3 separate regions of the Homo sapiens genome follow, and regions 1 and 2 are each linked to region 3. Evidence: promoter capture Hi-C in human tissues and cell types (Jung and others, 2019). All regions are on one chromosome and are shown on one strand. The core of a region is centred on a gene start or on the middle of the fragment in contact, and the rest is flanking DNA. Distances in the headings are between cores, read along the strand shown.

Evidence for each region. The method cuts DNA at HindIII sites, captures the fragments that hold promoters and counts their contacts. A contact is called where the count stands out against the background at its distance.
Region 1: a fragment that was not itself captured here is called in contact with the fragment with the promoter of AMER2 in region 3 in 3 of the 25 tissues and cell types used here (dorsolateral prefrontal cortex, neural progenitor cells and spleen).
Region 2: a contact is called between a fragment that was not itself captured here and the fragment with the promoter of AMER2 in region 3, in 1 of the 25 tissues and cell types used here (dorsolateral prefrontal cortex).

Annotation. Positions count from the first base shown.
Region 1 is chr13:25,130,836-25,134,543 of GRCh38, reverse strand. No RefSeq gene overlaps it. Among named protein-coding and RNA genes, the nearest start is that of PABPC3, 37 kb to the right of the region's middle. The HindIII fragment of the contact is 5,264 bases long and covers 1-3,708 here.
Region 2 is chr13:25,224,332-25,228,234 of GRCh38, reverse strand. LOC105370121 (a long non-coding RNA gene) reads left to right here. Exons shown (of 3, transcript XR_941763.3): 3 at 1-1,077. Among named protein-coding and RNA genes, the nearest start is that of LINC01053, 45 kb to the right of the region's middle. RefSeq lists an enhancer at 1,929-2,098. The HindIII fragment of the contact is 3,211 bases long and covers 1,024-3,903 here.
Region 3 is chr13:25,170,891-25,174,674 of GRCh38, reverse strand. AMER2 (APC membrane recruitment protein 2) reads left to right here and starts at 2,387. Exons shown (of 1, transcript NM_152704.4): 1 at 2,387-3,784. The coding sequence starts at 3,056. It overlaps LINC00463 (long intergenic non-protein coding RNA 463), which reads left to right. Exons shown (of 4, transcript NR_120428.1): 3 at 588-762; 4 at 1,353-1,851. RefSeq lists an enhancer at 329-1,528. The HindIII fragment of the contact is 4,196 bases long and covers 1,099-3,784 here.

The sequences.
Region 1 (3,708 bases), core at 181-2,680, 39 kb after region 3:
TGGACTTCCCAGCCTCCAGATCTATAAGAAATAAACCTCTTTTGTTTAGAAATTATCCAGTCTCTGTTATTTTGTTATAGCAACACAAAATGGACTAAGACATTTGGCTTATGATTCTGGAGACTGGGAAGTCCAAGGGCATGGTGCTGACATCTGCTCAGCATCTGGTGAGGGCCTTCTTTGCATCTTTGTAACATGGCAGAAGGAATTGCATGACAAGAGAGCAAGTGAGAGACTGAACTTGTAGCCTCAAGTCCCATTGTAACTGGCATGAATCCATCCATGAGAGTGTAGCCCTTACACCCTAAACACCTCCCATTAGGCCCCACCTCCCAACACTGTTGCATTGGAGATTAAGCTTCTAACACATGCTTTCTTGGGGGACATATTCAAACCATAGCACCAAGGAAAACAAAAAGAACTAAATGCAAATACAAACAGATTAAGATCCTGCAAGGCACAAGAGCATGGTGATAAAGGATGGCACTGCCTGGGTTTGAATCCTGGTCTGGTACTTGCTAGCTGTGTGGGCTTTTAGGGGAAGCCACTTCACGTCAGTGCCTCGATTTTCTCATCTGTGGAATGAAGAGACTATTCATAACCCCCTTATGGGTTGTGAAGATTGAATGAGTTGATACAGGTAAAGTGCTTGGAAGAGTGTCTGGCACCATCAAAGTCTTAGCTACTATTGGTTTTATTAAGGCAGATGATTTCAGGTTGTAAGGAGAGGTCCCAGAAAAAGCAGTGAGCAGTTTATTCAGTACAAGATGTGCTCATGCCCTGGGCAGTCCTCTGTAGCAGCACCCTCTTGAGCTTCTTTGCATTGTGCCTACTCTGTCTCCTCCGACTCTTGTCTCCATCCTAGGCTGTATCTTTTTTCCAGGTCTAGACTTCTGAGATAGGCTGTAAGGTGTACCTTCTTTCCAGTTGTAGATCAGCACTTCTGAAACTGTTATGTGCTTATGAACCATCTGGAGATTTTACTGAATGCATATCCTAATTCTGGAAATCTGGGGTGTAACCTGAGATTCAACACTTCTAACAAGCACCTAGTTCTTGCCAACTTTGAGGAACCAGGAGCCAAAAAACCTGCTGCCTCGACATCTTCTTCCAAAGTAAGTTTTACACCAAATATTGCTTCTAGAGTCTTCATTCTCCTTCAGCACCTGAGGTCCAGTCCATATACGGTCCCCTCCCACTTCACAGCTCACTCGCATGGCAGTGATGAAAGATGGACCCTGCACCTACAAAATATTCTGGCCCATGATATCAGCTCCATCTGTCTGCTCAGCTTCTCTATGACTCAGGAACACACCTCCTCCCATGGGAGTGTTCTGGTAAGCATCTAATATGAACAGAGTTTTCAAAATTGTTTTCTAATTTCACAACACTATAGATACACTGTGAGGGGAGCAGTTTTTCCCCAGAATAAACACAACAAACAGAACCTTCTGTTGCAGCCTATTTTACTTGCCTGTTGACTCCTCTGTCTTTCTTTTGAGAAAATGATCTCGGAAAGGCCAGGATGTCGTGTTCACTGTTGGACTCCCGCCACCCCTCTCTGCTAGACCCCTGCATGTAGTCTATAATATATGAGGAGGAAGTGAATGCATTTACACACTGTGTGAGTGATTTGGCCACATTCCACACCACACTTTTGTTCCAAAATGCCCAAGTCACAGATAGCTCATTAATGTATGAGGATGCCACAGTTCTCTTGGCTCAGATGTCCCCCAAAACCTGGGAAAATGGAACCAAAGGGCCTTTCTTTATGTTGGCACCAATTAACTGGCTTATAAGCATCCCAGCTGCAGAGTAGCAGAAGAAAGTATTCTTAAAAGAAAGAATAACCTAAAGTTGGAAAAATGACAATAGCTGGAAGCATGATAGAGTTATACAGTCTTTCCAAGTTGCCATGTAAGTAGTCCCTGGTGCCATTTATACTTTGTATTTGGCCACCCTTAGAGGCCACCCTCAGTGGAGTTTTGCTCTGTCCTTAACCTGGCCCACACAGCCCCAAGAGTTAGCTATCACACCACTGACTCTCTTGTATCTGTATCACTTATTTATTCATTGATTCACATTCATTTCATCCTGCTCACTGGCTGACAGGCCAGAACAGAAGGAACAGTACAGCTTATTTGAGTTAGAACAAGAGGAAAGGATGGGAATTCAATAAAGCACAGATGATGTGTGTGTGTTGGGTGTCGGGGAGTTTGGGAAGGACAGAACTGAGGTCTGTATAAACCCCACTCCCCAGCCAGCCCTTGGGGCTGGTGCCTCTGAAAGACCAGCGTGTAGGTGTAGCCCTTTGTCATGTATTAAGGGACTGTTAACGGAGGGTATCAACAAAGGGTCAGAGACAGCTTTAGACAGGGAGTGCAGGAGCAGTGAAGCCAGGAATAAAAGCATCACCAACAAAAGTTGGACCAAGTCCCAGGGCCTGGGTAAAGTCTCACAGGACTCAGTATGGCTATGATGTCCCAAATCTGTCACAAACCTATGCTACTGACAGCTCTGCATCTGTGAGTGATTTTCGTGACAAGATTGACAGTGCAGGGGCTTGAAGAGAATCTGTTGCAAATGAAATGCAACTGGATTAAGACTGACTGACAAAGATCGTATAAAACCCAAAACTCGAGGAGGCCTTGGACTTTGGGGGGAAAATGGAGAGAAAAAAAACACATAAAGATGGTGAAGGTTAGAATGCAGAGTGTGACCCAGAAATCATAAAAGACTCTGTGCCCAATATACTACATACCTAGCAAAGAATCTGGACTATTTTAGTGGGGGATACAAAAGGTTTTGTGGGGAATAATAGAAGTCTTATTCACAGAACATTCTGCAGTTGTATAGTATCTTAAGTTTACAACACTATTTTATATAGATTGTCTTTTTTTCTGCTCACTGAGACCTCAGGAGAAACACAGGAAAAAAATTATTCTAAGTTAACTCATGAGAAATCAAAGTTTTTCTCACATTATAATACATAGATCATCCACATCAGAAGCATTTATTTAAAAATTGGGTTTCTGATCTCTGCTCCTGGAACAGGAAGTAAGAACTTCTAGGATGAAGCTCAGAAATTTGCTTTTTAAAAAATCTTACTCTTTATTTTTATCTCTAGTGAGGTATAATTAACAAATAAAAAGTATAACTTAAGGTACACAATGTAATGTTTTGATATACATCTACATGGTGAAATAATCACCACAAAGAAACTTGCATTTTTAACAAACTCCTCAGGAGACTTATAAAGGCATTCAAGTTTGAGAATATGGGCCCTAGAGATTAAAGAAATTGCCCAGATTCACACCCTCCCCCACTCACTCTCACACTTACTCACACTCACGTGTGGAGCTAAGACTGGAATTCAGCTCTTCTAGTCTAGTGTCCTTCCCACGAAAACCCTGTCCCACTAAGTTGACATGGTTACCCATCACCAACAAGTCTGTACCACGGAGTTTCTAAGATGCTTATCAGGAACTCAGATTCTATCATTTTCTTTTCTTTTTTTTCCTTCCTTCCTTCCTTCCTTCCTTCCTTCCTTCCTTCCTTCCTTCCTTCCTTCCTTCCTCCCTCCCTCCCTCCCTCTCTCTCTGTTTCACTCTTTCTCTCTTTCTTTCTTTCTTTTTTGTGACAGGGTCTCGTGCTTTCACCCAGACTGGAGTGCAGTGTCAAGATCATAGCTCACTGCAACCTCGAATG
Region 2 (3,903 bases), core at 1,380-3,879, 53 kb before region 3:
CAAGGAAGACTGAGGAGTCTCCATGGAACCTTCCAGGGAGAGACAGTCAATAAACTCTCATCAGTCGAAGTGATTTCTATTGTACAGTGCAAACCTATGTGTGCCGTGAAAAACAGTAAGGGCAATAGGGCTTAGGAGGAGGGGAAGGCTGTGGGTGCCTGGGGTGGCAATGGGGAGCCTCACTAAGGAGGCAAAGATGGAACGATGAGGGTCAGCCATCAGATGGAAGGCTCTAGAGCAGATGCTGCCAGCTAGGCGAGGACCAGGTGGGCCGAGCAGACACTGGCTTCAGCGTGCCCTCTCCTGCCCACCGTTCCCATCAATTTCAGCACTACTGCAGAAAGAGACTTTTAAACAGCAAACGTCAAGCGTACACTTCACGAGGACAGGGACCTTCATGTGTGGGATGTAACTCAACACCCGAGGGCATAGTGGACGCTCAATGAAGAGCTGTTGAACAAATGAAGGGATACAGAAAGTCAAGAGGGGAAAGGTTTGGAAAGCGGCGGATGTGTCGTGCGAAATGCAGCACGTGGTGAAAGACAATAAGCACCCGAAGAACCTTGGTCTTTGTTCTTATTTATTTATCTGTTTTTATCATCTCCTATTTATTTATGGTCAAAGGCTGACCTATAGAGTGTTCAGTTGTTCTCCACAGTGGTTTTACTAGTGTGCTTGGAAAATAGGAATGAGCTATTTAGAGGATTCTCTTACGGTCCTATTCCGGAGTTTAACTGCAGCCAGTGAAAACATCCTCGCTCGGTGGTGTAGCGTCACATCCACAATCAAATCAGTATTTCACTCTTAGAATATGGACTGCTTCTGTCTATATCTTCACAGGTGTAAGATTTATGTTTAACATTGGCATGAGAATAAGTGAAAGTCAGGTAGTCAAATATCCTTTTGTAAATAGGAATAGGGTAAAAACCCTTTAATATAGGATTGTAATACTTGGCATTCAATTTATAATTTTTGTAGCATTCAATATATGGACTCAATTTATAATTTAATGCATAATTTAGTTTTATAATTTTATAAGACTATATACTTATAATTAAATTTACAATTTATAATTTTGATTGCCTCTTTGTAAGTTCCATTTACAACTCCTTGTCTGCCACAGAGACTTAACATTGTAGGGAACACGTGTGGAGAATCTCTTACTCTTTTAAAATTGAAAGTCATGGCTCATGCCTGTAATCCCAGCACTTTGGGCCAAGACGGGCAGACTGCTTGAGCTCAGGAGTTTGAGACCAGCCTGGGCAACACAGTGAAACCCTGTTTCTACAAAAAATACAAAAATTAGTCGGGTGTGGTGGTGTGTGCCTGTAATCCCAGCTACTCAGAAGGCTGAAGCACAAGAATGGCTTGAGAACGGGAGGCAGAGGTTGCAGTGAGCCGAAATCATACCACTGCACTCCAGCCTGAGTGACAGAGCGAGACTACATCTCAAAAAAATAAAAAAATAAATTAAATTAAAATTAAAAAACAAGTGGAAGTCAGTAATTAGAAAGCCCAAAGATTAGGCTCAAAGTGTTGTCTGGGGTGTAAGCCTGAAAGGGAAGCCTCTTAAGTTCTGTGGGGTTCACTTTTCGAGGTAAACTGCAGTTGTTTTGACAGGGGAAGTCTGCTTTTAGCCATTTCAAATATTTATATTCTTATTCCAATTCACTCATAGACTAGGAGCACATTCAAAGATAAGCATTTAAACCACAGCGGAAAGTAGAGGCCTCTGATGGAGCACATTTAAAACGTGTCCTCATCTGGGGAAGGAGATATATTATTCAGTCAAAGCAGAAGTGAGTGCAAGAAATAACCTCCACTAGATTTTTGCAATTACCGGGATCTATTAAAGTGGAAAAAAAAACATTTGTTGGAGATCTACATCAGTGAAATCCAAACATTTTAAGTCCAATTTTCCTCATGGAAGAAAGACCACATAGAAGAGGGCTCAGGACTGTGAGGAGCACAAGGTTCCCGCTGTGCCACCAGCCACTCAGCCCTTGTTGCCCACTCAGGGTCTCCAGGAGCAATCCTGTAATTCCCTCCACAGACTCTGGGGACCTGATACATCTTTCCAGCTGCCTGGAGGTTCTACCCCTTAGCATTGGCTCTAGAGTACAGTTGATCTGGCTTTTACGCTTGCGTCCTCTGAAACAAGTGCACACGTTATGGGGACTTGCTGCTACAGAAATTTTTCAATGTTTGGAAATTTGCATATGTTCAAGAAATCTCAAAAAAGTGCCAACCTTACTCAGTACTGATCCCCTTCTGTGGATGCCCACACACCTTCTCTCCTCCAGCCTCCAACATCCCCTCGCGCCGCTTCCTTCCCTGTTCACAGAGAACACAGACACCATCAGAAAGAGCGGCCCCTGATTCCACTCCCCATGGTCTCCACAGCCAGTGGCCAGTTTTCATTGCTCCCTTTCTCCGGTTCATTTAAGACATTTGATGTGTTTGGTCATCCCTCTTTCATGGAACATTTTATGCTGTTGGCTTCCAGATGCCACAAGCTCCTCCATCATAGTATGTGGCTGTGGCCCTGGCTACCTGCATCCCAGGAGGGCTCTGCACAGCCACCAGCTCTTCCTGTCCTTGGATTGTAATGTAGGGTCTAGGACCCATGTCTTAGCACAAAAGGAGCTGGGAAAAGTATCGGGGCTATTCATTTAAAATACGGTAGGTAGGTTCCACTTTATATGGTGGGGAGTTCCTCAAACTTAAGAGGGTTAAAAAAGATGACCGCTGTCCATGTGGGACCTTGACCCAGTGAAATTTGGGTCACTGATGCAAGGCCATTAGTGCCTAAACCGGCAATGTCTGGTGAAACTAAGGTTTTGCTACCTATCAGATTTATAGGATATATTGAAATCAACAAGTGTGTGTGTGTGTGTGTGTGTGTGTGTGTGTGTGTGTGTGTTTTCTTTTTTTAGATGGAGTCTCACTCTGTTGCCCAGGCTGGAGTGCAGTGGCACGATCTCGGCTCACTGCAACCTCCAATTCCTGGGTTCAAGCAATTCTCCTGCCTCAGCCTCCTGCGTAGCTGGGATTACAGGCAGGCGCCATGATGCCCGGCTAATTTTTTGTGTATGGAGACGGGGTTTCACCATGTTGGCCAGGCTAGTCTCGAACTCCTGGCCCGCCTCGGCCTCCCAAAGTGCTGGTATTACAGGTGCCGCGCCCGGCCTGTTTTTGTTTTTAAAGAAAGCAACAAACAGATGAGCTAAGCTTAAGAAGCAGAAATGAGTAAAAACAAAAACAACAACAACAACAAAATAAAGCAAAGATAAAAAACACTGTTAATGAATTATTAAAAAGAGAACATCAAAAAAGCCAATAAACCTGAGAGCAGTTTCTTAGACAAAAAGTAATCAAGTAGGCAGACTTTCAGAATATCTACTTAAGGGTGAAAAAGACAAATGAAACAAAAGAGAAAAATAATGTGGCAACACCTTCAACCCTCTCCTGGGCATCCACAGAACCCCCAGCTAGTCTCCCAGCTGCTAACTACTCTTCTTCCCAGCCTGAATGTTGCTGTTCCCCTAAATTCATATCTTGGAAACTAATACCTGCTATGGTAGTGAGGCCTTTGGGAAGTAATTAAGTCATGAGGGCTGCGCCCAAATGCATGGGATTAGGGTACTTATAAAAGAGGCTTGTTTCGGGGAAAAAGTCTCACTGACTGCATTTTTCCTCTACTTCCCCATCACCACAAGAGTCAACGCAGAAGACTTCTGTGACCAAATGTGTGGGTTTTTTCCCCCCGACACGAAGCAGCAGACACTAGCTGGGTGTCCTCCAATTCAATTCCAACACTACCCGGAAACAGTGTCAGATCCCACAGGTTGGAGGCTCCCTGGCATTGGGAACTGGATCCCACAGTCCCCAAGATTCCCGTCA
Region 3 (3,784 bases), core at 1,138-3,637:
AGAGGAGAGGAGAAAGAAAGAGAAAGAAAGGAAAGAAAAGGAAAGAAAGAAAAAGAAAAGAGAAGAAAGAAAGAGAAAGAAAGAAATTCCACCCAGTAAGCTTTGGGCAAAGGGCTGGACTGCTTTGAAGGCACCCTAAAAAAGGAAATGATGATGTGATGATGATGTGATGATGATGATGATGATGATGATGATGACGACGACGTTAAGTTCTCAAATGGTTCTTCCTGTGTTTCTCTTGTTTTTTTTTTTTCCTTTTGAGTACCATCCTCCAGAGAAGCTCACTACCTAGAGAAAAAAGCCTCAACAAAACGACAAATACTTCCTGGTGCCAACAAAGAAAAGCCCACACATGTCTTCCAGCAAAATCCACTTGCTGTTTGCATTTGTGATACGTCTTATTGTTTTGGAATGGCTTTTCCCTGAAATGTTTCCCCTCGGTCCTGTTCTCTATTCCTTTCTACTCTAATTTTCTATTCACTCCCAAGCTGGGGCAGGATGGGGGAAAAGAATGAAAGAAGAAACTATAAACAAAAATGGGAGTGCTTACGGTAAAATTATCTTCACTGTCATGTTCTGTCTCTCAGGGAAAAAAAAAATCACCATTTTGCTTTCTCCACTCTTGACTGTGAAGTTTAATATAAGGTATGGCTCAGTCTTTGTGATGATTCATAACCTGGCTCTAACCAACAAACCATTGGACCATCCTGCGCCTCATCTCTCTCCCCTACAGAGTCTCTCCTTACCTGTCTGGCTTTTGGGGTAAGTTCCTTTCAGCTGACTTCACCCTCGTTTTTCCCACTGTCTCTGTAACAAGGACTTTGAGTAGGACGCTGGAGGGTCCTCACTCACACCGCAGCCTCTACAGCTCCCATGCCCAGTGCCTTCAGATTGTTCCAGGGGTCCCTGCTTTCTTCTATCTCAGGGCCAGTAACTCACAGTGAGGGCACCTTCCGCAGGCTGAAGACAGCTTTGTCTCTTTCTCTTTGTTTGAGTGTTGATGTCCCAAAAGAATGATATCCATCCCAAAGTCCTCTATCAGATTTCTCCCAGGAGGCCCAAAGATTCTCATGTAAATTAGAGTCACATTTGACCTGTCCTGATGGGTGAATAAGCAGACCACTTTCTCCCAGTGGAGAAAGGGAGATTTTTTAATAGGCGACTTACTTTTCCTTGATCCCAGTCACAAACTCTTCCAAACTGACAGAGCTACATAGTAACCCACAAATCTAAGCAACTGTATGGGTGTGTGTGTGTTTGTGTGTGTGTGTGTGTATGTGTGTAAAATTGAGAGACTTTCTATTGTTCTTCAAAAGGTTGTAAAGACGTAACAAATGGGTTTCTCTTTACAGTTCCTTACACGTGGTCTCCCCAGAAAGCACTGAGGACTCTGATTCATCATGTCAAGCGGTCAATTAGAATCCGGGAAAGCCTCTCTCTGGCCTCACCTTACTTCCTGTACCAGGAGAGATGCTCATCAATAGTGAGAAAGAGTTGATGGGATTAGAGTCTGGAAGTGACAACCTCTCCTGAACCTGAACTCATTGATTTCTTCGTTTTACAAAACAGTGTTCTTGAAAAAAATAAACAAAAAAAGGAAATAATACAACTAAGAACTCCAAGGTCTAAATTTTAACCAGCTGTATCTCATAACAACAGAAGCTGCAATGGCCAACATACGTCATTTATAAAACGCCAACTTATGTGGATGGGGATTGGGATTTATTGGCCTAATGCAAAGAGCATATAAAAAATGAGTAGGGAAAAGACTACTGTTTGTGTATATATGTAATTATTACATATATTCTTAAATGATATTTAATAAATAATCAAATGATTAAATAATATATACTATATATACATGTTATATTTATATATGTATATGCTTCTCCAAATTTCTTTTTGCTAAAAAGCACTCAGCTGGGATTATGAAATCAGATGTCAAGATTAGAATATTAGCAGTCACTTTTTAAATCAGAACACAGAACAGATCCCTAGACTGAGCTGTTCCCAGAAAAAAGGTTTTCCCTCTCCCCAGACCAGGCAGGTAGGAATGTCTGCAGAGATCCCTGGACACACAGGGACCCCTGCCAAGCTTTTCCTGCTCTGTACATTGGGGAAGGGGACTACAAGTCAGCCCTGGTGGTATGGGGGAGGGGAGTGGTACCGCAGTGACAGGAATAATGCCACTGTCCTGCTGAGTGGGAAAGGAGAGGGCAGAACCCGGACTCGAAGGCCCACCTGTGGAGTGGGTCTGAGATTCCCAGCCTGTGTGTCTCGGTCAGCTTGTCTATTGTTATCAGATGTGGGCTGTGCCGCAGCATCTGTGACTTCATCCCGTGGTGGCTGGAGTCTGGGATAAAAGTCATGGTTGTCCCAAAGGTGCAGGCAAACTCCACCCCGGGGAGCTGTTGTGCTTGCATTGCTGGGCTGCTGATAGACTGATTGAGTGGTGGCGTGTACTTTTGTCACAAGAACCATAACCACAATGACAGCCACACAGCATGGACCTAGCGTGTGCTCAGCTCTGGACAAGACATGGATGTAGGCAGACATGCTTCCTGCCTGCTGGGCTTAGTGCACCAATGCTAAGGACAGACATGAAGGGCTTGGGAAAGGCATGAAGATGCAGGGAGTCTAGGAGAGAGGATAAGAAAAACAAGCATTTTGTGGTGGGTTGAATTGCGTTGTCGTTTTTAGAGGCATTTCGTGATCCATGGTTGCGCTCCCGTGAAGAGCGAGTCTAGAGAAGGAATCCGAAGGTGGGTGAGAGTTGAGGGAATTTGAATTCCATAATTACGACTCGAATTTCTGCAATCAGCTCGCGGCTGTGTTGCCTGCTCCTGCCACAAAAACGCCATGCAGCGCCGAGCCAAGTCGGATGGAAGTGGGTTAGGGTATTATATAAGCCCTTGCGGGAGGGAAGATGGTCTTTTATGTGTGTTTCTTTTGCAGCGGCGGCGGCGAGCGCGGCTCAGGTTGATTTAGAATACGGGTGACAGTGGCCTGGCGCGAGCCCACTGCTGACGAAAGCGGCTTATCCCGCGCGGTTTCCATGGAGACGAGCCGGAGCCGCGGCGGCGGCGGGGCTGTCAGCGAGCGCGGCGGAGCTGGCGCGTCCGTGGGGGTCTGCAGGAGGAAGGCGGAGGCCGGGGCCGGGACCGGGACCCTCGCGGCAGACATGGACTTGCATTGTGACTGTGCCGCCGAAACGCCGGCCGCCGAGCCGCCGTCGGGGAAGATTAATAAAGCTGCCTTCAAATTATTCAAGAAGAGGAAATCGGGTGGCACCATGCCCAGCATTTTTGGGGTCAAAAACAAAGGGGACGGGAAAAGCTCGGGTCCGACGGGGCTGGTGAGGAGCAGGACCCACGACGGACTTGCCGAGGTGCTGGTGCTGGAGAGCGGCAGGAAGGAGGAGCCGCGCGGCGGGGGCGACAGCGGCGGGGGCGGCGGGGGGCGGCCGAACCCGGGGCCCCCCAGAGCCGCAGGGCCCGGCGGGGGCTCCCTCGCCAGCAGCTCGGTGGCCAAGTCGCACAGCTTCTTCTCGCTGCTGAAGAAGAACGGGCGCTCGGAAAACGGCAAGGGAGAGCCTGTGGACGCGAGCAAGGCCGGCGGCAAACAAAAGCGGGGGCTGCGGGGGCTGTTCAGCGGCATGCGCTGGCACAGGAAAGACAAGCGGGCCAAGGCGGAGGCCGCGGAGGGGCGCGCGCCCGGGGGCGGCTTGATCCTACCCGGCTCGCTCACCGCCAGCCTGGAGTGCGTCAAGGAGGAGACGCCCAGA